7 separate regions of the Homo sapiens genome follow, and all the other regions are linked to region 5. Evidence: promoter capture Hi-C in 16 types of primary human blood cells and fetal thymus (Javierre and others, 2016). All regions are on one chromosome and are shown on one strand. The core of a region is centred on a gene start or on the middle of the fragment in contact, and the rest is flanking DNA. Distances in the headings are between cores, read along the strand shown. Region 1 has its middle 36 kb from the start of AKR1E2. Region 2 has its middle 56 kb from the start of AKR1E2. Region 3 overlaps LOC107984198 (a long non-coding RNA gene). Region 4 has its middle 61 kb from the start of AKR1C1. Region 5 holds the start of UCN3 (urocortin 3). Region 6 has its middle 38 kb from the start of AKR1C1. Region 7 has its middle 9.4 kb from the start of AKR1C1.

Evidence for each region. Contacts are between HindIII fragments. The CHiCAGO score rates a contact against its expected background, and 5 or more counts as called.
Region 1: a fragment that was not itself captured here is called in contact with the fragment with the promoter of UCN3 in region 5 in 1 of 17 cell types (M1 macrophages); the score reaches 5.0 in M1 macrophages.
Region 2: a contact is called between a fragment that was not itself captured here and the fragment with the promoter of UCN3 in region 5, in 8 of 17 cell types (monocytes, M0 macrophages, M2 macrophages and 5 more). The highest score is 9.9, in monocytes.
Region 3: a fragment that was not itself captured here is called in contact with the fragment with the promoter of UCN3 in region 5 in 3 of 17 cell types (M1 macrophages, M0 macrophages and endothelial precursors); the score reaches 6.8 in M1 macrophages.
Region 4: a fragment that was not itself captured here is called in contact with the fragment with the promoter of UCN3 in region 5 in 3 of 17 cell types (M2 macrophages, M1 macrophages and naive CD4 T cells); the score reaches 7.4 in M2 macrophages.
Region 6: a fragment that was not itself captured here is called in contact with the fragment with the promoter of UCN3 in region 5 in 7 of 17 cell types (M2 macrophages, total CD4 T cells, monocytes and 4 more); the score reaches 7.4 in M2 macrophages.
Region 7: a contact is called between a fragment that was not itself captured here and the fragment with the promoter of UCN3 in region 5, in 2 of 17 cell types (M2 macrophages and M1 macrophages). The highest score is 6.8, in M2 macrophages.

What each region holds. Positions count from the first base shown.
Region 1 is chr10:4,860,341-4,864,095 of GRCh38, forward strand. It overlaps a transcript of AKR1E2 not described here. Among named protein-coding and RNA genes, the nearest start is that of AKR1E2, 36 kb to the left of the region's middle. The HindIII fragment of the contact is 3,697 bases long and covers 213-3,755 here.
Region 2 is chr10:4,880,580-4,884,540 of GRCh38, forward strand. It overlaps the pseudogene AKR1C6P. Among named protein-coding and RNA genes, the nearest start is that of AKR1E2, 56 kb to the left of the region's middle. The HindIII fragment of the contact is 3,017 bases long and covers 103-3,119 here.
Region 3 is chr10:5,078,517-5,082,317 of GRCh38, forward strand. LOC107984198 (a long non-coding RNA gene) reads left to right here. Exons shown (of 5, transcript XR_001747341.2): 5 at 2,230-2,455. It also overlaps a transcript of AKR1C3 not described here. Among named protein-coding and RNA genes, the nearest start is that of AKR1C3, 14 kb to the right of the region's middle. The HindIII fragment of the contact is 1,874 bases long and covers 886-2,759 here.
Region 4 is chr10:4,900,853-4,904,780 of GRCh38, forward strand. It overlaps the pseudogene AKR1C6P. Among named protein-coding and RNA genes, the nearest start is that of AKR1C1, 61 kb to the right of the region's middle. The HindIII fragment of the contact is 1,225 bases long and covers 1,964-3,188 here.
Region 5 is chr10:5,363,147-5,367,144 of GRCh38, forward strand. UCN3 (urocortin 3) reads left to right here and starts at 1,820. Exons shown (of 2, transcript NM_053049.4): 1 at 1,820-2,084. The HindIII fragment of the contact is 8,098 bases long and covers 1-2,087 here.
Region 6 is chr10:4,923,443-4,927,676 of GRCh38, forward strand. No RefSeq gene overlaps it. Among named protein-coding and RNA genes, the nearest start is that of AKR1C1, 38 kb to the right of the region's middle. The HindIII fragment of the contact is 1,188 bases long and covers 1,988-3,175 here.
Region 7 is chr10:4,952,011-4,955,947 of GRCh38, forward strand. No RefSeq gene overlaps it. Among named protein-coding and RNA genes, the nearest start is that of AKR1C1, 9.4 kb to the right of the region's middle. The HindIII fragment of the contact is 2,143 bases long and covers 1,315-3,457 here.

The DNA of each region.
Region 1 (3,755 bases), core at 811-3,310, 500 kb before region 5:
TGACAAATAGCCCATCCAACTGCTTCTTCGTTTTTATAGACAGAAGCTGAATCTATGTGGCAAGAGCCAGTTTTGATAGCTGTTGTGATGGACTCTTCATACTCTCTCTGAGGAACCTTTATGACCAAGGACAGCATTGTTGTCCTGTCTGATTCACACAAGGGGAACCTCATAGTGGCTGCCAACTTTTTTGATTGCACCTCTATCAGTAAAGCTTTTTGAATTTGCATAGAAATATATCCATGTTTATTGATTTATTACTATATGAATGTACTGCTTTACTAATACGATGTATACATTATTAAATACTCTTAGAGCATCTGAAGATTAAATTTAAAAATCGAAAAATAAGAGCTTTATTAATAACCCAAACTCTGTGCTCTCTCTAATATATTGTGATTAATACCAAATTCTTTTCAAAGCAATGGTATGAATATGCTTTATTGGCTTTTTTTGTTGGTCCTTCTTGATTTAATGCTTTTTGACCTAGAAATGTGAACCTTGGGATTCTACATTCAGTTTAATTTGAAATACGGTTTTCATGGCAGTCAACTGCAGCTAAGGATGCCTCATAGAGATGCTTCGATGCACATAGGGGAAGTCCGTCTTTGGGTCCTCTTCATAAATCATGGTATGGTTTTCTCAGTCCCCTTTGCCATTTGTATAATTTTTGAAATTTGACCAGTACATTATAATCTCCTCTGATATGCTCTTGGTATGTAATTGTAATCAATCAGGCTCAAAACTTACAAAACATTTTATTTGGAAGATTTTTAAACAGATTAAAACACTCTATCCAAAACTTTTAAAGTGTTCAGGAAATTTTTGTAGGTGCCACACTTCTATCATTTTAACAACAAAATCTCACAGTGACAGAAATATTTTCGGACATCTATTTCAACCTTAAGAAAGAAGATTTAATGTGTTATTTAATTAAAAAAACTCTAAAAACTAATCATCATCCCAGAGCACATTAGCAAATATAGAACATTTTTTTGGGAGGGGAGTAAAAATGTGCAATATGTCTTCTTCTTCTTTTTCTTTTCTTGAGATGGAGTCTCACTCCATTGTCCAGGATGGAGTGCAATGGCGTGATCTTGGCTCACTGCAACCTCTGCCTCCTGGGTTAAAGCGATTCTTGTGCCTTAGCCTACCAAGCAGCTGGGATTACAGTTGCACCACCGCGCCCAGCTAATTTTTGTATTTTTATTAGCGATGGGGTCTCACCATTTTGGCCAGGCTGGTCTCAAACTCCTGACCTCAAGTGATCCTCCCGCCTCGGTCTCCCAAAGTGCTAGGATTACAGGCATGAACCACCGCGCCTGGCCAATATGTCTTTATAGTCAAAAATTCTTTGAAATAATTTACCATAGATAAGTGAACTTTTTGTGTGTGGCCTAAAAGATATATTCCTTCACTCACTTTTTGATGGGGTTGTTTGTTTTTTTCTTGTAAATTTGTTGGAGTTCTTTGTAGATTCTGGATATTAGCCCTTTGTCAGATGAGTAGATTGCAAAAATTTTCTCCCATTCTGTAGGTTGCCTGTTCACTCTGATGGTAATTTCTTTTGCTGTGCAGAAGCTCTTTGGTTTAATTAGATCCCATTTGTCAATTTTGGCTTTTGTTGCCATTGTTTTTGGTGTTTTAGACATGAAGTCCTTGCCCATGCCTATGTCCTGAATGGTATTGCCTAGGTTTTCTTCTAGGGTTTTTATGGTTTTAGGTCTAACATTTAAGTCTTTAATCCATCTTGAATTAGTTTTTGTATAAGGTGTAAGGAAGGGATCCAGTTTCAGCTTTCTACATATGGCTAGCCAGTTTTCCCAGCACCATTTGTTGAATAGGGAATCCTTTCCCCGTTTCTTGTTTTTGTCAGGTTTGTCAAAGATCAGATAGTTGTAGATGTGTGGTATTATTTCTGAGGGCTCTGTTCTGTTCCATTGGTCTATATCTCTGTTTTGGTACCAGTACCATGCTGTTTTGGTTACTGTAGCCTTGTAGTATAATTTGAATTCAGGTAGTGTGATGCCTCCAGCTTTGTTCTTTTGGCTTAGGATTGACTTGGCAATGCATGCTCTTTTTTGGTTCCATATGAACTTTAAAGTAGTTTTTTCCAAATCTGTGAAGAAAGTAATTGGTAGCTTGATGAGGATGACATTGAATCTATAAATTACCTTGGGCAGTATGGCCATTTTCACGATATTGATTCTTCCTATCCATGCACATAGAATGTTCTTCCATTTGTTTGTATCCTCTTTTATTTTGTTGAGCACTGGTTTGTAGTTCTCTTTGAAGAGGTCCTTCACATCCCTTGTAAGCTGGATTCCTAGGTGTTTTATTTTCTTTGAAGCAATTGTGAATGGGAGTTCACTCATGATTTGGCTCTCCGTTAGACACACATAGGCTCAAAATAAAGGGATGGAGGAAGATCTGCCAAGCAAATGGAAAACAAAAAAAGGCAGGGGTTGCAATCCTAGTCTCTGATAAAATGGACTTTAAACCAACAAAGATCTAAAGAGACAAAGAAGGCCATTACATAATGATAAAGGGATCAATTCAACAAGAAGAGCTAACCTAAATACATATGCACCCAATGTAGGGGCACCCAGATTCATAAAGCAAGTCCTTAGAGACCTACAAAGAGACTTAGACTCCCACACAATAATAATGGGAGACTTTAACACCCCACTGTCAACATTAGACAGATCAACGAGACAGAAAGTTAGCAAGGATATCCAGGAATTGAACTCAGCTCTGCACCAAGTGGACCTAATAGACATCTACAGAACTCTCCACCCCAAATCAACAGAATATACATTCTTCTCAGCACCACACCGCACTTATTCCAAAACTGACCACATAGTTGGAAGTAAAGCACTCCTCAGCAAATGTAAAAGAACAGAAATTATAACAAACTGTCTCTCAGACCATAGTGCAATCAAACTAGAACTCAGGATTAAGAAAGTCACTCAAAACCACTCAACTACATGGAAACTGAACAACCTGCTCCTGAATGACTACTGGGTACATAACAAAATGAAGGCAGAAATAAAGATGTTCTTTGAAACCAACGAGAACAAAAACACAACATACCAGAATCTCTGGGACACATTTAAAGCAATGTGTAGAGGGAAATTTATAGCACTAAATGCCCACAAGAGAAAGCAGGAAAGATCTAAAATTGACACCCTAACATCACAATTAAAAGAACTAGAGAAGCAAGAGCAAACACATTCAAAAGCTAGCAGAAGGCAAGAAATAACTAAGATCAGAGCAGAACTGAAGGAGATAGAGTCACAAAAAACCCTTCAAAAAATCAATGAATCCAGGAGCTGGTTTTTTGAAAAGATCAACAAAATTGATAGACCACTAGCAAGACTAATAAAGAAGAAAAGAAAGAAGAATCAAATAGATGCAATAAAAAATGATAAAGGGGATATCACCACCGATCCCACAGAAATACAAACTACCATCAGAGAATACTGTAAACACCTCTATGCAAACAAATTAGAAAATCTAGAAGAAATGGATAAATTCCTCGACACATAAACCCTCCCAAGACTAAACCAGGAAGAAGTTGAATCTCTGAATATACCAATAACAGGCTCTGAAATTGAGGCAATAATTAATAGCTTACCAACCAAAAAAAGCCCAGGACCAGACGGATTCACAGCTGAATTCTACCAGAGGTACAAGGAGGAACTGGTACCATTCCTTCTGAAACTATTCCAATCAATAGAAAAAGAGGGAATACT
Region 2 (3,961 bases), core at 361-2,860, 480 kb before region 5:
TATCATTTTGTATTTTTGAGAGTGGCAGGATGCAGCCAAATGCCTAGGCAGATAGGGGTGAGTCCTCAGTGAAACCCCACCTCCAACCCCAGCACAGTTTAAAGCTTGAAAGCCAAACTACAAGTTAAATCCTCAAACCAGATTGAGAATTTGTCTTCCTGTTTGTCGCACTTTCCTGTGATTGATCCCATCCTTCACCTATTTTACATATACCTAGCCTTTCCTAATTGGTTTTCTACACTGTCATGTCCACCTTTGAGTGGTATCTTCACTTTAACCTTTTTTGCATACTCACAAACCAATCAGCATGCACTCCCCCTTCTGAGTCCATAAAAGCCCCAGACCCAACCACATGGGAGGACTTTCCTGCCTTTGGGTAGGGGGAACAACACTGCATCCCATCTCTGCTGAAAGCCATTTTCCTCGCTTAATGAAATTCTTCTCCTCCCTCCACACCCTTCAATGTCCAGCATATTCTCATTCTTCTTGGGTGCGGTACAAGAGCTCAAGAACCACCAAACACAGGTACAAGCTATAATATAGGCAAGCTAGGGCACACCAGCATGGCCGAGTGAGGCCCAGGTGGGGCATCACCAGCTGGGGATCTTTGACTTGTAAAGTGACCAAAAAGAAAAATCCTACATCATTTTCACCAGCAATTAAGAAGAGTTTCAGTTTCCCTATATTCTCATCAGTGGTTGGTGTTGTCAGTGCTTTGGAGTTTGCCCATTCTAATAAGTGTGCAGTAATTAATTTATGATTGTCTAGTGATACATGATGTTTAGCAACTTTATTGGATTATTTGCCATCTGTATATCTTTGTTAAACTGTTCAGATCTTTTGCTCATTTCTACATTGGGTTGCTTATGGTTTCTTAACCTTGAGTCTTAAGATTTCTTTGTATAATTTGGAAATCAATTTTTTATCAGATATATGTTTTGCAAATATTTTCTCCCATAAATGGTTTGTCTCCTCATTCTCTTGGCAGTGTCTTTCACAAAGCAGAATTTGTTAACTTTAATGAAATCCAGCTTATCCATTCTTTCTTTCTTGGATCATGCCCTTGGTATTATATCACCATACCCAAGGTTTTCTAGTTTTTCATTTATATATTCTAGGAGTTTTATAGTTTTGTATTTTACCTTTAGGTCTGTGATCCATTTTGAGTTAATTTTCATGAAGGATGGAAAGTCTGTGTCTAATTCCTTTTTAAAATGTTTGAATGTGGATGTCCAGTATTTCCAGCATCATTTGTCAAAAAGGTTATTTTCTCCATTGAATTGCTTTGCTCCTTTGTCAAGATCAGATGACTGTATCTGTGTGGGCCTATTTCTGGGATCTCTCTGTTCTGTCCCATTGATCTATTTGTCTGTTCTTTCACCAATACCACACTGTCTTTATAGTATCTCTTAAAGATGGGTAGTTTTAGTTATCTGACTTTGTTCTTCAGTATTGTTTTGGCTATTCTTGGTTTCTTAATTTTCAGTGTGAACTTTAAGATTAGATCATTGGTATTCCCAAAAATAACTTACTGGTAATTTCATTGGGATTGCATTGAATCTATAGGTCAAATTGTAAAGAACTTACACCTTCATATAGCATCTTCCTACACATTTAAATATAGTGTCTTTTCATTTATTTAAATCTTCTTTGATTTCTTCTTCAGCGTTTTAAAGTTTTCCTCATATAGATCTTGTCCATACTTTGGTTTTTTGTTTTGTTTTGTTTTTTTGAGACAGAGTCTTGCTCTATTGCCCAGGCTGGAGTGCAGTGGCATGATCTCTGCTCACTGCAACCTCTGCTTCCTGGGTTCAAGCGATTCTCCTGCCTCAGCCTCCTGAGTAGCTGGGATTATAAGTACGTGCCACTATGCTCAGCTAATTTTTGTAGTTTTAGTAGAAATGGGGTTTCACCATGTTGGCCAAGCTGGTCTTGAACTCCTGACCTCAAGGGATCTGCCTGCCTCAGTCTCCCTAAGTGCTGGGATTACAGGCATGAGCCATCGCACCCAGCCCACTTTGTTAGATTTATACCAAAATGTTTCTTTGTATGGTGCTAATATAAATGGCATTGTGTTTTTAATTGTAAACGCCACTTTTTCATTGCTGACATATAGAAAAGCAATTGATTTTTGTATATTAACCTCATATACTGCAACCTTTCTATAATCACTTATGAGTTCCAGGAGATTTTATTGATTCTTTCAGCTGGAATTGAGTATTTCTTTTCCCTCAGGTTAGATTCAAGTAAAACCTCAGGCATAGGCTCTAGTAAAATATCTTCTGCTGAGGTCAGGCCCTTTTAGGAAAACATGGCTGCTTTGGGCTCCTCCAGCCGGAAGCATGAGGGAAATTTTCTCTGGTATTCACTGAGAAAACTTGGTAGGCTCTAGAGGTAAAATTCACAAAAGCGTGGAGGCCTCCATAAGAATGGATGTCCCTGGAGCTTTTCTCTCTCAGACTTGTTCACATTGAGCTCCCAGCAATTCATTAATAACAGTGTAGGTTTTCCTACTCAGCACTGGCCCCAGCTGTGGTTTTTGCTTCCTGGCTTCTGCAAGGCACTGATCATGTCTCTATCAGCCTATCCCTCCAAGTTTTGGAGGCAGCATTTTGCCCTGTGACCTCAATTATCTGTTGAGTCTAATTGTTAGTTTTCCATCTGTTGAATTGCTTACATTATTTGAGGACGTGAGTAATGACTTTCCAGCTTGTGATCCACCAGCCCAGAAACCAAAAGTTTAGTAAATGAACTTTTCGCTGCATATTTTTCTTACTCTTTGTTCCCTGACTCCAGTGATTTGATAAGAGGAATCGACAGAGATCCAAAGAAAAGCAAGAGACCTCATTAAGGTTCACTTGAAGCATGTTCTCCCACGCAGCCTGCAGGCAAGGTCCTGCACTGGGTTACAGGGGCTGGGTTAGTCATCAGGCACACACCAATTTTCTATGGAACTGTTGCATGTGTGTTTGCTTAGTCATGGACACTAAATGGGAAGGAAGGGTAGTTCATTAGACTCAGGGCTTAAAACCTACCTGGACCCTGTAACCCCTCACCTGAGCTAATTTCTCACTATGATCAGTTTGCTGCACATAATTAACCAGTTGTACTTCTACTCAAGCTTCCTAGGCCATGTAAAGTCCCTCCCAGCCAATCAGCCTTCACTTGGCCAAATTCCTTTCACCCTTTAGAGTTCAAGGTAATGTCCAAGTTCCCCTTTGGGTCTCCATCAACTATTGAACTCAAAACCTTTTTTTTTATTTCTCTAAATTGATTATGTCCAAAGTGGAGGTAAATCTCCTAAGGGTCACAAAAGAAAACTTTTTAGAACTCCTATTTGTATTTTTTATCCAAAAAGATGAAATAAATGAAGATTTACTAATACTCAATTGTAAATTGATAATCATCCTTACTCAGTCAGCATGTAAGATGTTTACACAGAGATATGACCACCTGGGTGAAGTGTGAGTCTTCCCCAGCACGGACAGATTGGCAGTTCTTCCTACAGTCATGTGACTTCCTTCACAATCCTCCAGGATACTGCAGTTTATATGTTGCCCATTCAAGTGGCTTTATCTTATTGAGTAGACTTTAAAAACATCTTTATATTTTTTATTGTGGTTAAACATCCATAACATAAATTTTACCTTTTTTTTAAATCAAGGGGTTCAGTTTGATATTGATTTTTAGTTTTTTCTTTGAAAATACTCTCAGACTTACAGAATTGTTACAAGTAGTTCGAATAACTTTTGTTTAAATGACAGAATTATTACAGAGTAAGTTGCTAACAGGTTGTCCCATCATCTCTCAATATTTTAATGTATATTTCCTACAAACAAGGAGAGTCTCCTAATAGCATAATCACAGCCACCACAATCAGGAGGTCAACACAACTGATTTTGATGATCTCATGCTTAAACTTTATCATTTCAATGATTTTTAAGTGCCTAGTTTAGTGACA
Region 3 (3,801 bases), core at 573-3,072, 280 kb before region 5:
ACCACGAGTGCCACTGGTGAGAATTCTTGGGTCAAATGAAAAAAGGGTTAAATGCAAGGCAGGTCATCAGCAAAGTACAGTACCTGTTCGTGAGTTGATTTTCTCTCCAGTCCGACATATTCCTCAATATGATTTTTAAATAGAATAGGGATCTCACTGGAGGACATGCAAGTAATTTAAATTTGTTCATACATATAGGCAGGGCCCAGAGAGATTAAGAGCACATGTGGTTTAAATGCTGTTATCTCTGCTTTGTGAATAGCATGGTAAGTTGAAAATATTTGCCATTGAAGCAAGGGACTATTTGCCTCAAGGTTAAATAAGACAAGAAGAGCTTCAGATGCCTGGTCTGCAGTGATGAGTAGAACAGGCCCTTCTGCTGTTGGGTGCAGACATTTCTCCTCCACCTTCTTTAAGGCATTAACACTCACTAGACGTGTTCATGTAAAGGTGTCTCGATAGTGTTAACTCCAGTCTCCTTGTGAGTCTTGCTGACTTACCATGACTAGAGGACTTGGATGGCATGCTAGACCTTCCAGTAGCCAGCCTGGATCATTGTACTTGTTCTGAGTTGCACAGGTGTTTTACTTTTGTGCCAGGTGGTTGGAAATAGGCACATAAAATGGAGCTATTTGTTTTAAAATCATTTCATTTATTGATGCTCTTGTCCAGTGTGTCTGAGGGTGGTATCTGCCTTCCCAGGAGGCAGGAGTGGGGCCCCCAACTGAGGAGCTCATGGTGCACTCTTAGCTTTTAAGACTTGTCATACAGGGTGCAATAAAACAAAATGTGCCACTCAAAATGTACTTTTTTGGTATATTTTGATCTTGCTGTTAAGAGGGGCTACAATTCAGAGAGGCTGCAGACACAGAAATAGCCCTGAAAAGCTTTCTTCTCTGGCAGAGATTTGCAAGTGCTGAGGAAATACACGTTAGTGAAGTGAACAGAGGAGAAAAGCATTTCTCTGAGGCACACCCCACCCCCACCTTATCTGCCTAATTGGATCAAGGAAAGATTAACTCCCAGGAAAAACAGACTGAGATCCTAATGCTTTAAAGGTCTGACTGAGAAACTTCTCCATAGGCCACTGTCTATCTTCCTGAGGGCAGCTTGGGGAGCCCCTGAGAGACTCACATCTGTGTGGGGACAGCCTTGGCTCACCAAGCATACCTCTCTCTCTCCCCCATTACCTGAGACCCCACCTCCCCGAGAGACCCCAAGCCCCTATTCTCTCTGTAGCCTCAGGATGTGAGGAAATCTTCAATCATCTGGTCCTGCTTGGAGTCTCATATTTGCTGCTCCATGTACATGTATATGAATTTATATGCATTTTATGTTAATTATTCCATTGTCAGTGTATCTTATGTAATCAAGTCACCAAAACTTCAGAAGGGCGAGGAAAGAAAATTTTCTTTGCACCTGCAGGGGTATCTGCATGGTATGCAAAGCAGAAAAGTTAAAGCGAAATAATGAATCAGAGTCAGGGAATGAGCAAACATGACCTGGACAATGGCAATGAAGGAATTGTGCACGGCCTCTATACTGGTATTTACATAACTGAGGTCCATCAGTGCCAAGATCTTTGTCTTTTTTCTTTCCTTCCCTCTCACTGCCCATGTCCGGACATAGGCCGGTAAGAGCGTCTGGTTAAGATGTGGAGTAAGAACATCTTAAGATGTGGAGATGGGAAACACTGTATGGGAATGTGAATGAGTGTGTGAAAATGTTAAAAATCGTGTTGAGAAAAAAATCTTTCCTTGTGCAAGTATACTTACTTGCATAATTATCACCTTTAGTTTTGTAATTATAAGATTTCTCAGAGCCTGGCTGGGTGCGGTAGCTAATGTCTGTAATCCCAGCATGTTGGAAGGCTAAGGCAAGTGGATTGCTTGAGGCCAGGAGTTCATGACCAGCCTGGCCAACATGGTGAAACCCCATGTTTAATAAAAATACAAAAATTAGCTGGGCATGGTGGCATGCACCTCTAGTCCCAGCTACTCATGAGGCTGAGGCAGAAGAATTGTTTGAACCCAGGAGGTGCAGGTTGCAGTAAGCTGAGATTGTACCACTGCACCACTCCAGCCTGGGTGACAGACTGAGACTCCGTCTCAAACAAACAAACAAACAAACAAACAAAGATTTCACAGAGCCTGCCATTGAATGTGTAGTGTTTAGGAAGGATGGAAGGATCTTAAGGAAGCCACTATCTGTGTCTCACTTTCTTCGTAGTGTTAGATGAACTTTCTGGTTGACACCTGACAGGAAGAGCCTCTGTATTGGACCACCATGTTTGTGCTCACTGTGTAGTAACAAACCAACACACCAAAATAGCGGGAGTTGCCACTGACAAAGAGTTGAATGATCAAATGACGGCCAAAGGAGGAGGTAGGACGCAACCTCAAATTCACTGCCCCAAGGAGTTTTAGAATGGGGTTTTCAAGGGACTTTTGGCAGATAGAGGGCTGAGGAGTGGGGGGGTTACTGATTAGTTAGGGTGTGGGGGATGAAAACATAAAGATATAGTAAGTGCATTCTAGGATCAAATCAGTTCCTTAAAGTGGGTATTTACACAGGATGGTATCAGTGGATCTGTTGGAATGCAGGATCTGGAAAATATGGAAAATTTGAAACTTCTTCACATTACAGAAGTTATCTATAGAAGTTAGGGCCTTGTAATACAGGCTATAAGCTATAAGCAGCTATAAGAAAGTGGCCTGTGGGGCATAGCTGGTTAATGTTTAACTACCCTTCAACTCAAAAGCTTTGATTTTGCTAAAAACCTAGACATTCATTCAGTTTTATTGATTTTATAAGGATGGTGTCACCTTCATTAAACACATTTGTTCTGAGGGACAGTTGGGCCGCAGTGGCCATTGACTTATGTGGCCAAAATGCTTGCATTGACCAAAAACTTGCTTTCACATGAATAAAAATATTCCTCCAAAATAAGCACTTGTTTTGAGAGTCTCTGAAAAACAATCATTGTATATAAGAAATATATTTTGTGGTTAATGACATAATTTTACTTTACTCAGGGAAGGCTGTTTCTCTCAGTACATCGTTCAACTTTGGCACCAGCCAACATTCTCAGGACTCCCATAAAGCCAACCAACTAAGCAAAATCCTGAATATTGTTCACTAATCCTGATTCTGCCTCCTTTCTAGGTGTGAATTCAAAGGCAGCATTACTCCCCATTTTCTTCCCTCTCCTGTGTCTCTCCCCTGAGGCTTCTCTGCAAAACATCACTGCCCAGCTTAGCATCTGTCCTGGGCACTGGTAATAATGTGGTACCATTCATCCTCTCCTAGCATTTGATCACTCATCAGGAGCCCTCAGCCCCATGGGGAAGAGGACAGAAGAAGAAACCAGTGAGCTCCTGATTTCTTGCTTCTTTCTGTCAGTGTTTTTTCTAATATCTCCAAGTTGCAAGAGAGAAGTAGAAGCTACATGGCATTCACCCTAAACCTACTTGCATGATGCATTCTGTTTGTCTTAGAAGGATCATTGTACTTTATCATAAGAGGAAAAAACATTCTCCATTCTAGCAATTCTCTGGATGATTCTGCCTTAAATAGAGGGAGTTTTACTGTCTAGATTGAGCTTCTGCTCCTTGGTCCACTCCTCTTGAAACTTTACTGAGGTTGTTTATTAAATCTAGGAGTCTTTTTGAGGAACCTTTAGGGTTTTCTAGGTATATAATCCTGTCATCAGCAAACAAAAATAATCTGACTTTTATTTTTGCTACTTAAATGCCTTTTATTTATTTTCTTTACCTGATTGCCATGAATAGTACTTCCAAT
Region 4 (3,928 bases), core at 1,326-3,825, 460 kb before region 5:
GCTTTTGTTTATCTGGGAAAGTCTTTATTTTTCCTTCATGTTTGAAAGATATTTTCACTGGATATGCTATTCTAGGGTAAAAGATATTTTTCTTCAGCACTTTAAATATGTCATGCCACTCTCTCCCGGCCTGTAAGGTTTCTATTGAAAAGTCTGCTGCCAGATGTATTGGAGCTCCATTGTATGTGTTTTTTTTCTCTCTCTCTCTCTCTCTTTTGCTGCTTTTAGGATCCTTTCTTTATCTTTGATCTTTGAAAGTTCGATTATTAAATGGCCTGAAGTACTCTTATTTGGGTTAAATTTCCTTGGTGTTCTATAACCTTCTTGTATTTGAATATTGATATCTTTCTCTGGGTTTGGGAAGTTCTCTGCCATCCCTTTGAATAAACTTTCTATCTCTCTTTCTTTCTCTACCTCATCTTTAAGCCCAGTAACTCTTAGATTTGCCTGCTGATTCCTTCCATTGATTTTACCTTTTTTTAGACAACTGTCTTAATCAAGTAACTATCAACATAGTAGAAAGTATTAGTGGAAAGTATTAGTGGCACATAACACCTCACACTCTAAAAAACAGCATATGTTAAATTCGAAAAATGATGTGAACTCATATCTTCAAAATAACATCTTCCAGGCTGGGTGCGGTGGCTCACACCTGTAATCCCAGCACTTTGGCAGGCCAAGACGGGTGGATCAGTTGAGGTCAGGAGTTCAAGACCAGCCTGGCCAATAACGTGAAACCTCATCTCCACTAAAAATAGAAATTAGCCAAGTGTAGTGACATGTGACTGTAACCCCACCTACTTGGGAGGCTGAGGCAGGAGAATCGCTTGAACCCAGGAGGCAGAGGTTGCACTGAGTCAAGATCTTGCCACTGTACTCCAGCCTGGTGACAGAGGGAGACTCTGTCTCAAAAAATAAAAATAATAATAAAAAAATAAAAAACACATCTTCCAGCCCAGTAGTACTTTTACCCCACCAGTTCTTTCTTGTGTGTTGAGATGGAGTCTTGCTCTGTTGCCCAGGCTAGAGTGCAGTGGCGTGATCTTGGCTCACCACGACCTCCACCTCCCGGGTTCAAGCGATTCTCCTGCCTCAGCCTCCGGAGTAGCTGGGATTACAGGCACGTGCCATCATGCCCAGCTAATTTTTGTGTTTTCGGTAGAAACGGGGTTTCACCATCTTGGCCAGGCTGGTCTCAAACTCCTGACCTCAGGATCCACCCACCTCAGCCTCCCAAAGTGCTGGGATTACAGGCGTGAGCCACCACACCCACCCCCCACCAGTTATTTTCATGTGCAACACTAATGACCAAAATTTGTTTGATCTATTTCCCTCTAAAAGAATTTTGTCTTCTTGTAGTATAACTGTTTTTTGTCTTAAAGCAGGCAAAATAAGGACAAATCAGAATATTGTGTTATGTCCAGAAAGCAAGGTTGGTTTTGAAGGCTGCTAGCAATGATTCTGAAAGGGCAAAGCTGCTCACTGAAGGAATCCTATTAGACTCACTGTGACATTTAAAAATGAAAATAGTGTTAACATTGTTATTTGGAAAAGTGGAGTCTATAAAAAGCCATGAATTAATAATTATGCTGAAAAAAGCAAATTCATATAAAGTTTGGAGAAGGTAGCTAGAATATAAAAAGAGGTGAACAAAATGTTTAATTCGTTACTGATTTTAATAAGTTAGGGAAGATTATATGTACGAGCACTTTTTTTTCTTTCATATGAGTTTCAGATTAGAGAATGAACAACATGTACTTCTTTCTGGTTTCGGAAGCAGAAACTTGAAAGCAAGCCAAGCAGTGTTGAAAGTGTGACAAGTACAAGAATAATCAGTTCAATCAGTCATCATACAAAATAAAGGTTAAGCACTCCAGTGGAAAGTACCAGTTTTCAAACACCAATAAATGGAAACTCTAAAATGCATATCAACTCAGGACACACAAGTTTGAGAAACGACTAAAGCTTATGAGAAAGTCAAAAGGCACAGACATTTGTTTAACTGTGTGGAAAGAAGTGCCTTTGTGTGAAAGAGAGCTCACTCGGCCTGATGATTGTGGCCTTGGGATTGACTCATCCTGGGAAAGGGACTCACGCTTAGGACTGAAGGGGGCCAGCCCCTCCACACCTGTGGGTATTTCGATTCAGGTGGGAGGAGAGACTGAGAAAAGAAATAAGACACAGAGACAAAGTACAGAGAAAGAACTGTGGGCCGAGGGGACCAGCGCTCAGCATACGAAGGACCCGCACCGGCACCAGACTCTGAGTTCCCTCAGTATTTATTGATCATTATTTTTACTATCTTAGCGAGGGGAGTGTAGCAGGGCAACAGGTGGGGAGAAGGTCAGCAGGGAAACATGTGAGCAAAGGAATCGGTATCATGAATAAGTTCAAGGAAAGGTACTGTGCCTGGATGTGCACGTAGGCTAGATTTATGTTTCTCTTTACCCAAACATCTCAGCGTAGAAAAGAGTAACAGAGCAGTATTGCTGCCAGCATATCTCGACTCCAGCCACAGGGCGGTTTTCTCCTGTCTCAGAATAGAACCAATGGGATTGGTCTGCTTTACACCTAGACATTCCATTCCCAGGGACGAACAGGAGACAGAAGCCTTCCTCTTATCTCAACTGCAAAGAGGCCTCTCTCTTTCACTACTCCTCCTCAGCACAGACCCTTTATGGGTGGGATGTCGGGCTGGGGGACTGTCAGGTCTTTCCTTTCCCACGAGGCCATATCTCAGTCTGTCTCAGTGGGGGGAAACCTTGGACAGTACCTAGGCTTTCTTGGGCAGAGGTCCCTGCAGCCTTCTGCAGTGCATGGTGTCCCTGGTTAATCGAGAATGGAGAATGGCGATGACTTTTACCAAGCATACTGCCTGCAAACATATTGTTAACAAGGCACATCCTGCACAGCCCTAAATCCATTAAACTTTGATTCAATACAGCACATGTTTCTGTGAGCACAGGGTTGGGGCTACAGTTACAGGTTAACAGCATCTCAAAGCAGAAACAATTTTTCTTAGAACAGATCAAAATGGAGTTTGATATGTCTTCCTTTTCTACATAAACACAGTAACAATCTGATCTCTCTTTCTTTTCCCTACATAGGACCTGCTGAGAAACAATATCAATTAATCAATTATCCAAGTTCAGCAATTTCAGCTGGTCTTTTTGGGGATATTTCAATAAAGCTTTATTCATGAACACTGAAAGTTTTAATTCATGTAATTTTACATGGCATGAAATAATATAAATCTCTTACATTTTCAATCGCTAAAAAATATACAAACCATTTTTGGCTCATGGGCTATACAAAACTGGGCAGCACGTTAGGCTTGTGGGCCATAGTTCTGTATAGTTAGTGGGTATTATTATATCTGTAGTTATTTTTCTATAAATTCTTATTTTAAAATTATGATCACATACATACAATGTAATATTTATTATTGTAACTATTCATAAACATATAATCCAGTGGCATTAAATGCATTCACAATGTTGTGTGACCATCACCATTTCTATACCCAAAACATTTTTGTCATTCTTAGCAAAAACTCTGTACCTATTAAAAAATTTCCTTTTGAGTTGTTCATTGTTGGTGTATGGAAACACAACTGATTTTTTTGTGTGTTGATCTTATACTCTGCAACTCTGCAGAATTTATTTATTAACTCTAGAAGATTTCTTATGAATTATTTGAGATTTTCTACATGTAGGGTCATATCGTCTGTGAAGAGAGGATTCCTTTTACTTCTCTTTCTTGTCTGATAGCTCCAGCCAGAATATCCATTACAATGTTAAATAGTAGTGATGAAGGCAGGCATCCTTGTCTTGTTCCTCACCTTAAGGGGAACACTTCCAGTCTTTCCCCTTTGAATTTCTCACATATGGCTTTTATGTGTGTTTTTTACCTTTATTATATTAATTGT
Region 5 (3,998 bases), core at 570-3,069:
AGGATCCTAGCCCAGGCAGCTCTGAAAGAAGGAAGAGAGGGAGGTCCAATTTCCTATCTCCATAAAGAGACTTAAAATGGGGAGTACAGAGTCTTGAAGTCCTTCCCCACAACAGCTTTCCATTTGTTCCTCCAAATGCTCATGGGCTTTAAAGAGTTTTGGTAATTTCAGAAGACCTCTTACCTCTTCACCTGCAGGAATTCACGAGAGTGGAGCAGCCGTCTGGGAGGAGGGCTAGGGACAGCCAGCCGGTCTTGCAGGGCCCCTTGTCATCAGCTCAGCCCAGTGAAAGGAGCACTGAGCCCAGCGTCAGGCCTGGTTCTCACCTGACTCTGTCACCCTGGGCCTGTGGGGTCCCAGCAGGTCACTTTTTACAGCCTCAGCTTCCTCATCTGTGAATAAGGGGTCAACAGACCGTAGTCTCCCACATCTCCCCATTACATATGGAATAAACTCCCAACTCCGCAGGCCTTTGGAGCACCTTAGTGCAGAGCAGCCTCTGCACCCACCAACACCTCCCTCCCATCGTCCTCCTTCTCTCCCGTTCCTCTCAGCCCTGGCTCAGTCCATGCTGATCCATCCTTTCTGTCTGAAACCCCTCCTGCTCTCCTCTCCTGTCTTGAGTAGACAGGACTGCTCTCTTCTGTAGCATTTTTTACCTACCTTTCTTTCTTTCTTTCTTTTGAGATGGAGTCTCACTCTGTTGCCCAGGCTGGAGTGCAATGGCGCCATCTCAGCTCACTGCAACCCCCACCTCCCAGGTTCAAGTGATTCTCTTGCCTTGGCCTCCTGAGTAGTTGGAATTACAGGCACTCGCCACCATGCCCGGCTAATTTTTTTTGTATTCTTAGTAGAGCCGGGGTTTCACCATGTTGGCCAGGCTAGTCTTGAACTCCTGACCTCGTGATCTGCCCGCCTCGGCCTCCCACAGTGCTGGGATTACTGGCATAAGCCACCGCACCCAGCCTTCCCTACCTTTCTAAACCATGAGGCCCTGTATGGTTAGGGGCCACAACTTACTTATCTCTGAACTCGTGGGTGTCTTGGCAATACCTGGTACACAGTAAGTCCTCAATAAATATAGGATGCATAAACGAGTAAAATCCAAGCCATTTCCCACTAAAACCTCCAGACCTCTGGTGTATGATGACCTGCTGTCATAGCCCAAAGGAATGGTTGAGTTTCAGGTATCCAGAGAAAAATGCAGGTGTAGAGCTTTCCCCTCAAACGTATTAACAAATAGATGGTGCTCAGTCATTTTCGCGGCAGGCTGCAGAGAAATCTTAAACTTTCGTGTTGTTTCACTGAGGGTACGGCAGAAGAGCCCAAGGAATGTGAAAGGAGAAACTTGCATAATTAGACTTTATGTGGGGAGTAGGCACCGAGTGTGTGACAAGCACAAGGGGCTACGTGTGCGGCCAGATGACGCTGCACGGTCAGAACCCACAAAACAACACGGCAACAGGTGGATTTTAAACCCCTTCTCTGCTTTCAAAGCAGGTCCAGGCTCTACATTTACAGAAGGAGAGTTAGGGCAAGGGGAATGTGGGGGAAACTGAAATTAGTTAGAACTAAGATCAGCAATAAAATTCTTCAAAGACACTGCTTCTCACTTTACCAGGATTTTTGTTTTGTTTTGTTTTGAGTTTTTATTTCTTCTTTTTCTTTTTTGTTCTTTGCTTTTATCAATGAAGCAAGTTGCTAGGATGCAAAAGGAGTTGGGGGGTAGAAGGGCGGGGTGGGAAGCAGAGGTGGGAGGGGTCGAGGTTGGAGCACCTGTCGTCTGCATGACGTGGACGGCTGGTTCTGGTTGTATTTTAAATGAAATCTCATCCCAGCGTAGACACCACGTCTGGAATTACGATCCACCCTGTGATCTGTCACTTTTATATACACACAGGGGAGGGGACCGTTTCCATAGAGAGGGAATATCACAGCCCACTTAGGAACAATACCGGAGAAGCAGGAGCCGAGACCCCGGAGCAGCCACAAGTTCATGGGGACGTGCACGGGGCCGCCCTCCTGGCCCTGAAGCTGCGCCGGCCTCCCTGAGCGTTTCGCTGCGGAGGGAAGTCCACTCTCGGGTAAGCTTGTGGCTGGGACTGACTTATGAAGGGTAAATGTATCTGCCCTAATTTAAGCAGGAGGTGCCATGCACTAGACAGGTGTGAGAGATGAGAGCTGCTAGCGCCCCTGGGTGGAAGCCCAAGGGAGCGATGCTGAACGCCCCCCACCCAATCAGCAGAAATCAGCCCCAAAGGGACCAGGGGAAGTTTCTCAGGGAGGCACAATCACATTCCCACGTTGGTATAGAGAGACCCTCTTTCCAAAGGTGTTAGATCAGAGGCAGAAGGTGTTCACACAAATCTGTTTTCTCTGAACAGAGCACAGCTGTGCACAGGAAAGTCAGTCCTCGGAGACAGTTTACAAATGGGGATGGGGTAGGGATGCCGGGGCTAATGGGAGCCACAGGACATGACTCCACGCCGCCTGCAAAGCAGCGAGGACACCTGCACTTACTGTTTACCTGTGCCACAAACCTTCACCTGTGCCATCTCCCGTCACTCTCGGGCACACCTGTGAAGCAGGTAACGTCTCCTTCCTAGGACGCGGCAAGTGAAATGCAGGTTAAGGGATTCACCCAAGAAAAGTCAGAGGCAAGGGAGTTTCCCCAGCCAGGTCCTCTGCCACCAAAGCCCAGAGCCCTTTGCCACACTAGGAACATTGCGGGGGTGTGTGCAGATACCTACAATGGCTAACTCCTACCTGTGAAGGGGAGATGGATGTTTGATGTTTATGTTTTCTGAAAATTCCTGTTCGCAATTTCTTTCCCAAGCATAGCCACCTACCAAAAATAACAAATGTGAGATTTTTAAAACGTTTTAAGTGGTCTAGTTTCAGTTTAACTTCTTATCAGTGTTTGCAGACAAACGGAGCCCACAGGAATAGCTCTGCACTTGGCAGAGATGTGTGATCAGTACTGTTTGCCTCCTGCCTTTGCTGCTTCATGTCCTGTCCTCTCCCTGTGAGGTGCTGGGAATTGGAGGCTGACCCAGGTCCCTCACGTTTCAGTGCTTGGCTCTGCCACAGCTCCCAGAAGTAACTGTGTCTCTTTACAGCATCCTCGACAAGTGCTACTGTCACCATAGCCCAAAGGAATGGTTGAGTTTCAGGCACCCAGAGAAAAATACAGGTGTAGAGCTTTGCCCCTCAAATGTATTAATAACTAGATGGTGCCCAGTTATTTTCGTGGCAGACTGCAGAGAAATCTTAAACTTTTGTGCTGTTTCACCAAGAATATGGCAGAAGAGTCCAAGGAATGTAAAAGGAGAAACTTGCAAAATTAGACTTTATGTGGGAAGTACAGAGTATCTTTTCTTCTTTGGGGAGAGTTCCTTTTCTTTTATCCTATAAACCCTAAACAAATCTAAACAGATCCTAAAAAGAAAAGTCCTGGAAAGAAATCTGAATCTACCTTCCAGCCCCCAGCCACTCACACACTTTGATGGTGAAACCATCCAGGGTTGCAAAGAACCCTTACATTTTAAACGATCTAAAACTAAGCTCAGCACCGGGCGTCCCTATCATGTCCAATTCACAGTTCTGGGAGGTTCCTTTGCTGTGTAACTTTGCATCATTGCTGATGGTAAGGGGACACCTTTCAATACCCTCACAACCGTGTGCAGGCTAGAGCTGAGGGTTTGCAGAGAGAGAAAGGTCTGCTACCTGCAGATGCACCAAGAACAGAGCGCCACGCAGGACACTTGCTCCCTGACACTTTCACAGATTTTTCCACACCTTCAGCACCCTAGCCGTGATTACAGTATTCTTCTCTGATGGTAGACTTGGGATTTGAAAAATAAGAAGGTAATGCATTTTTTAAAAGGCACAGTATTTACAAATTGACCCCAAAAATGTGAAAAAGTAAATATAGAGGTAAAAGGGATCTCACTCCCTCTCCCCAATGCCTTGCTTTTGTAACTGAGATGAGACAGGTA
Region 6 (4,234 bases), core at 1,332-3,831, 440 kb before region 5:
TCCAGGGTCCAATATCCAAGAAAATACAATGCACTAAAAATGTCTATGTAGACATAATGCAAAAAATAAAGGGACAAATAAATGCCTGCTTATCGTTAGATATTTCATTGGTGGTAAGAATTACAGATGCTTGCTATTCTTCCTTTTATTTAATAATTTCCTTTTTATTTTTTATTTTCCTCTATATTAATAAAATATCAACAATGGTATCTACCAGTTTTTGAGTTCTTATGATATGCCATTGTGGTTATGTTTTTCACACATTATCTCATCATCTCTATTCTTAAAATCTCCAGTGTCAGCAGTTACATAACTTCTCTTTTCCCTCATTACATCGGTGACCATCCATGACTCCTAAAACCTTAAAGCATTTGAAAGGCAGTCTCCCAATAGATAGAAACACCTGAAATCGGTAAAGACAGTAGTTACATTGCCTTACTGTCCATCAATGCTAGATTGCAGTCTTTTTTTTATCTTTTGTTTTAGGTTCAGGGTACATGTGCAGATTTGTAAATTGCATGTCATGGGGGTTTGGTGTGGAGATTATTTTGTCACCCAGGTACCAATCACTTGAATAGAGTGTCCCTTCCCCAGTGCTTGTTTTTATTAATTGACAGAAATCAGATTATTGTAGTTGTGCAGCATTACTTCTGGGCTCTCTATTTTGTTCCATTGATCCATGTGTCTGTTTCTGTACAAGTCTCATGCTGTTTTTGTTACTGTAGCCTTTCAATATAGTTTGAAGTTGGGTAATGTAATGCCTCCACCTTTGTTCTGCCTTGACTATTAGAGTCTTTTTGGTTCCTTATAAATTTTAACATAGTGTTTTTTTCTAGTTCTGTGAAGAATGTCATTGATAGTTTGATGGGAATAGCATTAAATCTGTAAATTGCTTTGGGCAGTATGGCCACTTTAACAGTATTAATTCTTCTTATCCATGAGCATGGAATGTTTTTCCATTTGTTTTTCTCGTCTCTGATTTCCTTTGAGCAGTGTTTTGTAATTGTAATTCTCATGGTAGTGATATTTCCCCTCTGTGGTTATCTTATTCCTAGATATGATGCTCATTTACCATTCCAACAATCCTAGGGCACAGACAATCACACACACACACAGGTACACACACTTACATGGAGTCATGCACACAGGCACACACACATGCACACACTTGCATACACATACACACTAGCACACAAACACATATACACACAGGCACACACACACACAGGCACACATACACACAGGTGCACACACACACAGGTGCACACAAACACATATACACACAGGCACACACACACACAGGCACACATACACACAGGTGCACACACACACAGGTGCACACACATACACACACAGGCACACACACAGACACTCTCATCTTCTCCAGCTCTTCTTCTTCTGTGTATTGATGTTATCTTCAGGGTGGGTGGAGGCTGCTGAAGCAATTTTTGAACTCACACTGCAGCAGGACAATAGCTACTTGCAGAAGAAAGGCCACCTTATTTTAAAAATTTCTTCCTAGAAGTGAGGAATCCTTCCTAGAAGCCCCTAGCATAGTCCCTCTTATGTGGCATTGGCTAGGACTGGGTCACAGCAGCTCTCTTCCCACTGCAACCACATGCCAAGGGCAAGGAAATTAACATGAGTGACCTAAACAGACCTTTTGCAGTAAATCACATGTTGATGAGATTACAATCCTGACCCCTAAAACCATAATATGAAATTGATGTTTTTCACAAAAGTTAGACATTTCCAATATTGCCTATATTTCCAAATTGCTTTGCAAAGTTTTAAAACAACTCAAAATAAATTAAAGTTTTAAATGTAAGAACTGAAACTATAAACTGCTATCAGAAAATGTAAGGAAAATTCTAAATTCTTTGGGGAAAAAGTAATAACTAAATTTAGGGAAATAATTCAAGAGTATGACCTCAAGAACACAAACAAGAGAATAAAAACAGACATATATGGCTTAATAAAACAAATAAGCTTCTGTAAATCAAAAGAAATAATCAAAAGGGTGAACAGACAACCTACAAAATGGAAGAAAATATTTACAAACTGTAAATCCAATAGAAAACTCATATCAAAAATTTATGGCCAGGCGTGGTGGCTCATGTCTGTAATCCCAGCACTTTGGGAGGCTGATGTTTGTGGATCACCTGAGGTCAGGAGTTCAAGACCAACCTGGTCAACATGGCGAGATCCCATCACTACTAAAAATACAAAAATTAGCCAGGGGGGTGGCTCATGGCTATAATCCCAGGTACTTGGCAGGCTGAGGCACGAGAATTGCTTGTACCTGGGAGGTGCAGGCTGCAGTGAGCTGAGATTGTGCCACTGCACTCCAGCCTGGGCGACAGAGCAAGACTCTGTCTCAAAAAGAAAAAAAAAATTCTAAGAAACTCAACAACAACAACAACCCAAATAACCTCTGTTAAACTGGGTGAAGAGCAGAGGTTTCCCAGCTTCATGCTTCGGCATACCTCTAGGAACTTGATATCTGCCCGCCGAAACTTCTTCCTCCTGCTGGTGCTTGTGTCTGCCATTGTGTAACCTGTAAGCGGGCCTTCTACTTGGCTAAGCAGGAAGATTAGATGGCTGTGCCTTCCACAGGTCAGATCAATGTCTTATTACACAGATAGCTTCTCTCAGTTAACAGGGATCCAATATATACACATCTGTATCAGCCATAGCCAGTTCTTTCCCATAGAACCATCTACTGGCCTGGAACTTGAATCACTCAACACAAAAAGACATCTGCTGATGCAAGCCCACTGCACTAGGGAATAAGATAAACTCCCTGATAAGCTCGACATCCAAAAAAAGCAAATGCAAAACATAACAGGGTAAAATAGTTTATGCAATTGAGAAAAAAACAGGAAACAACTCTGAAAGTATGAAAAAACAGACTGTTTAACACCCTCAAAGGATCACACATTAACTCTCCAGCAATAGATCCTAACTTAAATGAAATTTTGAAATACCAGATAAATAATTCAAAATATTGAGTTATAGAAACTCAATGAGACCAAACAGAAAGCTGAAAACTAACACATAGAAATCAGAAAAAAACAATTCAGAATATGGAAGAATATATTGACATCATTTAAAAAAGAATCAGAACTTCTGGAAATAAAAAAATTCATTGAAGGAATTGTGAAATACAGTTGAAAGCTTTAACAATAGGCTAGACCAAGAGGAAGAAAGAATTTTAGAGCTGGAAGACAAGTCTTTGAAATTAACTCAATCAGACATTAATATAGAAAAATTAATTTTAAAAAATCCACAAAGTCTTTGAGAAATAGGGAATTTTATGAAGTGACCATCCCTCAGAAATGTAAGTATTCCAGAGTGAGAAGAAAAAGAACTAAAAAGTATGGAAAACGCTTCGGAGGATATACTTCAGAAAACCTTCCCTGGTATTGGGAAACATTTAGACATTCAGATGCAAGAAGATCACAGAATTCTTGGAAAATACATTTCAAGATGAACCTCACCACAGCATATAGTCATCAGACTATTTGAAGTCAACATAAAGAAAAAAATTCTAAGAGTTGCAAGAGAGAAACACTTAATCACCTGTAAAGGAAATCCCATCAGACTAAAATTGAATTCTCAGCAGAAACCCTACGGGCCAGAATATACTTCAGGCCTATATTCATCCTCCTTAAAGAACAAAAGGCAGCCAAGTATTTTATATGCTGCTAAGCTAAACTTCCAAAATGATACAGGAATATTCTTTTCCAGACAAACAATTACTAAGGGAATTCATTACCATTAGCTCAATCCTAGAAGAAATGCTGAAAGAAATTCTAAACATGGAAATTAGGGGACAATACACATCATCATAAAAGGGCACATTAGTACAAATCTCACAGATCCTACAAAGTAATTACATAATTGAAACTCAAAGACAACTAGGAAACAATACTATGACAGAAACAGAACCTCACATACCATGTTAACCTTAAATGTAAATGACCAAAATGCTCCACTGAAAGACACAGAGTGCCAAACTGGATACAAAAAGCAAGATTCAACCATACACAGCATAGGAGAAACTCACCAAGTGACTAAAGGCATCTACAGACTTAAAGCAGAGGGGTGGAAATGCATATATCACACAAATAGAAAAAAAATACCAAAAAGCAAGAATGAGCAGAAGTAGCCACTCCTGTATTAGATAAAACAGACCTTAAAAGAACAACAGTGAAAACAGACAAATAAAATG
Region 7 (3,937 bases), core at 1,136-3,635, 410 kb before region 5:
GAAAAGGCCTGAAGGCTCACTTGGAAAGTATAACACAACACTGAGACCTTTGTGCTGAAAACGAGCCCAGTAACCATAGCAGAGGACAGCCTGGACAATAGGAGAGAGGTTTTGCTTTGGAAAACTAAATTTCTAAATTGACTGGGGCATGTCTCAGATATTTGGGGCTCACAATACCTAAATAAATTAAAAGCAGAAACTAAAACATGTTTTTGAAGCAATGTTAGTATTCATGATAACCTTATTCATAATAATTTTATTCACAATAATCAAAAGGTGAAAATGCAAGTGAGCATCAGCAAATGAAAGGATAAACAGAGTTTTGTGTCTACACACAAAGGGACATTATTTAGTTTTAAAAAGGAAGGAAATTCAGATACGTGCAATAATATGGTTGAACCTTGAGGACATTTTACTAAGCTACATAAGCCAGACACAAAAGGACAAACACTGTATGACTCCAACTATGTGAGGTGCCTAGAATAATTAAATGCAAAGACAGGAAGTAGAATGGTGGTTGCCAGAGGATGAAATAAGGGGGAAATGGGAAATTGTTGTTTAGTCAGTAGAGTTTTAGTTTGGGATGATTAAAATTGTAGTATACGTATACTGGTGATGCTTGCTCAGTAAAGTGGATGGACTTAATGCCAATAAACTATACGTTTCAAAATGGTTAAATGATGAATTGTATATTATATATATTTTACCACACTAAAGAAAAGGTTTAATGACAAGTGACAAAGCCAAGATACATTGAAGATCTACACCCATTTCCTTCTTTCCTAGGCCCTGGAGAAATGCAGAGATGCAGGTTTAATGAAGTCCATCAGGGTGTCCAGTTTCAATCACTAACTGTTGGAACTGATCCTCAGACAAGCCAGGACTCAAGTACAAGCCCATCTACAACCAGATGAGCCCTTAGGGCCACTGGGGCCATTTCTGACTTTGTGCTCTTCACACACTTCCTTACATTAGAATAATGTAATTGTTCAGTATGTTGTGCTTTAATTTTTTAAGAGAATGTCAAAGGCTAGCCATGACACTGTTATGTGTATTTCTTTTAATTTAACTTTTCCATAAATATTAAATAATGTAATTGTTCAGAATTAGTATCAGAATTGTTTCATAAATATTAAATAAGTTAATTGTTCAGAATTAGAATTAAATAATGTAATTTAGGTCTCCAAAACTTTTTTAATTTTCAATATTTTTAACTTTTATTTTAAGTTGAGGGGTGCACGTGCAGGTTTTTTATAAAGGTAAACTCATGCCATGGGGGTTTGTTCTACAGCTTATTTTGTTACCCAGATATTAAGCTTAGTACTCATTAGTTATTTTCAACATCCTCTCCCTTGTCCCAATTTTGATAAATTGGTAAAGGCAACAGCCTGAATAGAGGTGCATTCAAAAAAGTGTAGGAAGAGAAGAATGATACAGAAGTGTAGAAAGTATTCAAAGAATGGGTTATAAATACACCTGACAATTGAGATGACAATTTTCTTTGAGATGGCAGAAAAAACAGCATGCCTATATGCTCTTAGGAAGAATCTAGTAGAAAGAGAAAAACTGATGATGCAGGAGAGAGAGGATCAGAATTGCTGAATCATGTTTGCATTCATTTCCTATTTCTGCTGTAAAAAAATATCACAAATGTTGTGGCCTGAAACACCATAATTAATTTTCTCACAGTTCATCAATTATGAAACATCATAATTTTCTCAAATTCCAATGAATTTGGAATCAGAATTCCAAAATCTGGTTCAACAGGCTAAAGTCAGGGTGTCCACAAGGTTGTATTTCTTCTTGAGGGTCTAGGGGAAAATGCTATTCTGGGCCATTCCAGGTTCCAGAGAATGTGTTCCTTGGCTCATGGCACTTATTCTATCTTGAAAGCCAACTACATGGCATCTTAGGATCTCTGTCCTATGCGTCTTTCCTTACACATCCTCTTTGATTGTGGCCCTCCTGGGTGCCACTTGTAAGGATTTTGAGATGACATTGCCTATCCAGATGATTCAGGAAACGCTTCTATCTTAGGATCCTTAACATAATCACATCTGCAAAGTTTGTTTTGCCAGGTCAGGTAACATAGTCACAGCTTCCAAAGATAAAGGCATGAGTTATTGGCAGGGCAGGGGGAGGGAGCAGTATTGAGCCTACTGTACTAGCTTTGTGGAGAACTTGAAGCAAGTAAGCCTTAATTTTCTAGCCTTGCTAATAGAAAGTACTATATCACCAGCCACTAGGTCCTGAAAAATCTAGATTTCATCTCAGATATAATGAAATAAAAACCTGTTCCTTAGCTCTGATATCATTTATACCCTATCATATGTCCCCTTCTAGTCATAGTCCCTTTATTCCCTTAGTTTACCATTTCTCCCAGGATTTGTGAATATCTTTTTTCACTGTACATGCAGAGAACTCCAGCATTGCTGTTCTTTACATTCTCAACAACTGAAAGTTTCTACTCATACTTAGATTATACTTCAGGCAACTACTTCTATGCTATAACTTATACAGACAAAGAAGTACTTATAACTGCTCTATGAACCTTTAACTTTAACACACTTCATACTAATGAAGCCTCTTACGCTTCGATTTTCACTACACATCAGTTCATCAAGTTCTTAATTCATTAAGGGTTTCGGTCATTGGGTCTCTCATGTTTCCTCTTTCCAAATTCATTAAGGGTTTCGGTCATTGGGTCTCTCGTGTTTCCTCTTTCCATTCTTTCAATCTCCACACAAGTTTACATATTCAGATTTGCTTACATAATAAAGTAAATTGAAATCCTCAGACTACACTCATTCTCTCTAAATTTCTCCTTTAGGTTTTCTGCTGGTTGGGGTCTCTTGTCCTTGTACCTATTGATCTGTGCTTATAGCAAACAAACTGGATCAATCTGCTTATAGCCAGAACAAATTGCCCTGATTGTATTTTTGTAGATCATCTAGCCAAAAGCTAAAATCCTACACCAGAGATTCTTATTCATTTGATCTGTAGAAAAGTTTAGGTATCACTATGTTTCCTTTATTTTGTTTTTGGATTTGTATAAAATTAAAGTTTACAAGTGCAGTTTGCTACATAGATATATTGCACAGTGGTGAGGTCTGGGCTTTTAGTGTAGCTATCACCTGAATAATGTCCATTGTACTTACCCAAAAATTTCCCAGCCTCCCAGCCTTCTGAGTCTCCACCAGTGGAAGACGGAGGATCCAGTGGGCAGATATCAAGTGCCTATAGGTGTGCCTAGGCATGGAGTTGGGAAACCTCTGCTCTTTGATGAATTTTAAAGAGGTTATTTGGGTTTTGTTGTAATTATTGTTGTTGGGTTGAGTTCCTTATAAATTCTGGATATCAGTCCCCTGTTAGATTCACAATTTGCAATTATTTTCCCCCATTGTATAGGTTGTCTGTTCTCTGTTGATTTTATTTTATTTTTTTTTGCCTTTACAGAAGCTTATTGGTTTAATTAAGTCATATGCGTCTCTTCCTATTCTCTCATTTGTGTTTTTGAAATCTTAGTCTGAGTTCCTTGCCAGGACCTACTTAAGAATTTTTTGCCCCAATAAGTTTTCCTTAGATTTTCTTCTAGCACTTGATAGTCTCAGGTCTTACATTTAAGACTGATTTATTTCCAGTTGTTTTAAAAGCTTGCAAAGCTATTTTGAGGCATAAGCAAGGTTGCAAATGTCTAACTTTTTGAAAATATCAATTTTTCATTATGGTTTAGGGGTTAGGATTGTATTATCACCAACATGCATTTTATGAGAAAAGCTTTGCTAAGGTCACTCATGTTTATTTCCTTGCCCTTGGCATGAGCTACAGTGGGAAGAGTGCTGCAACCCAGCCCTAGCCAACACCGCATGAGAGGGACTGTGCTGCAGGCTTCTGAGAAGGTATCTCTCACATCTAGAAAGAAGCTTTTAAGATGTGG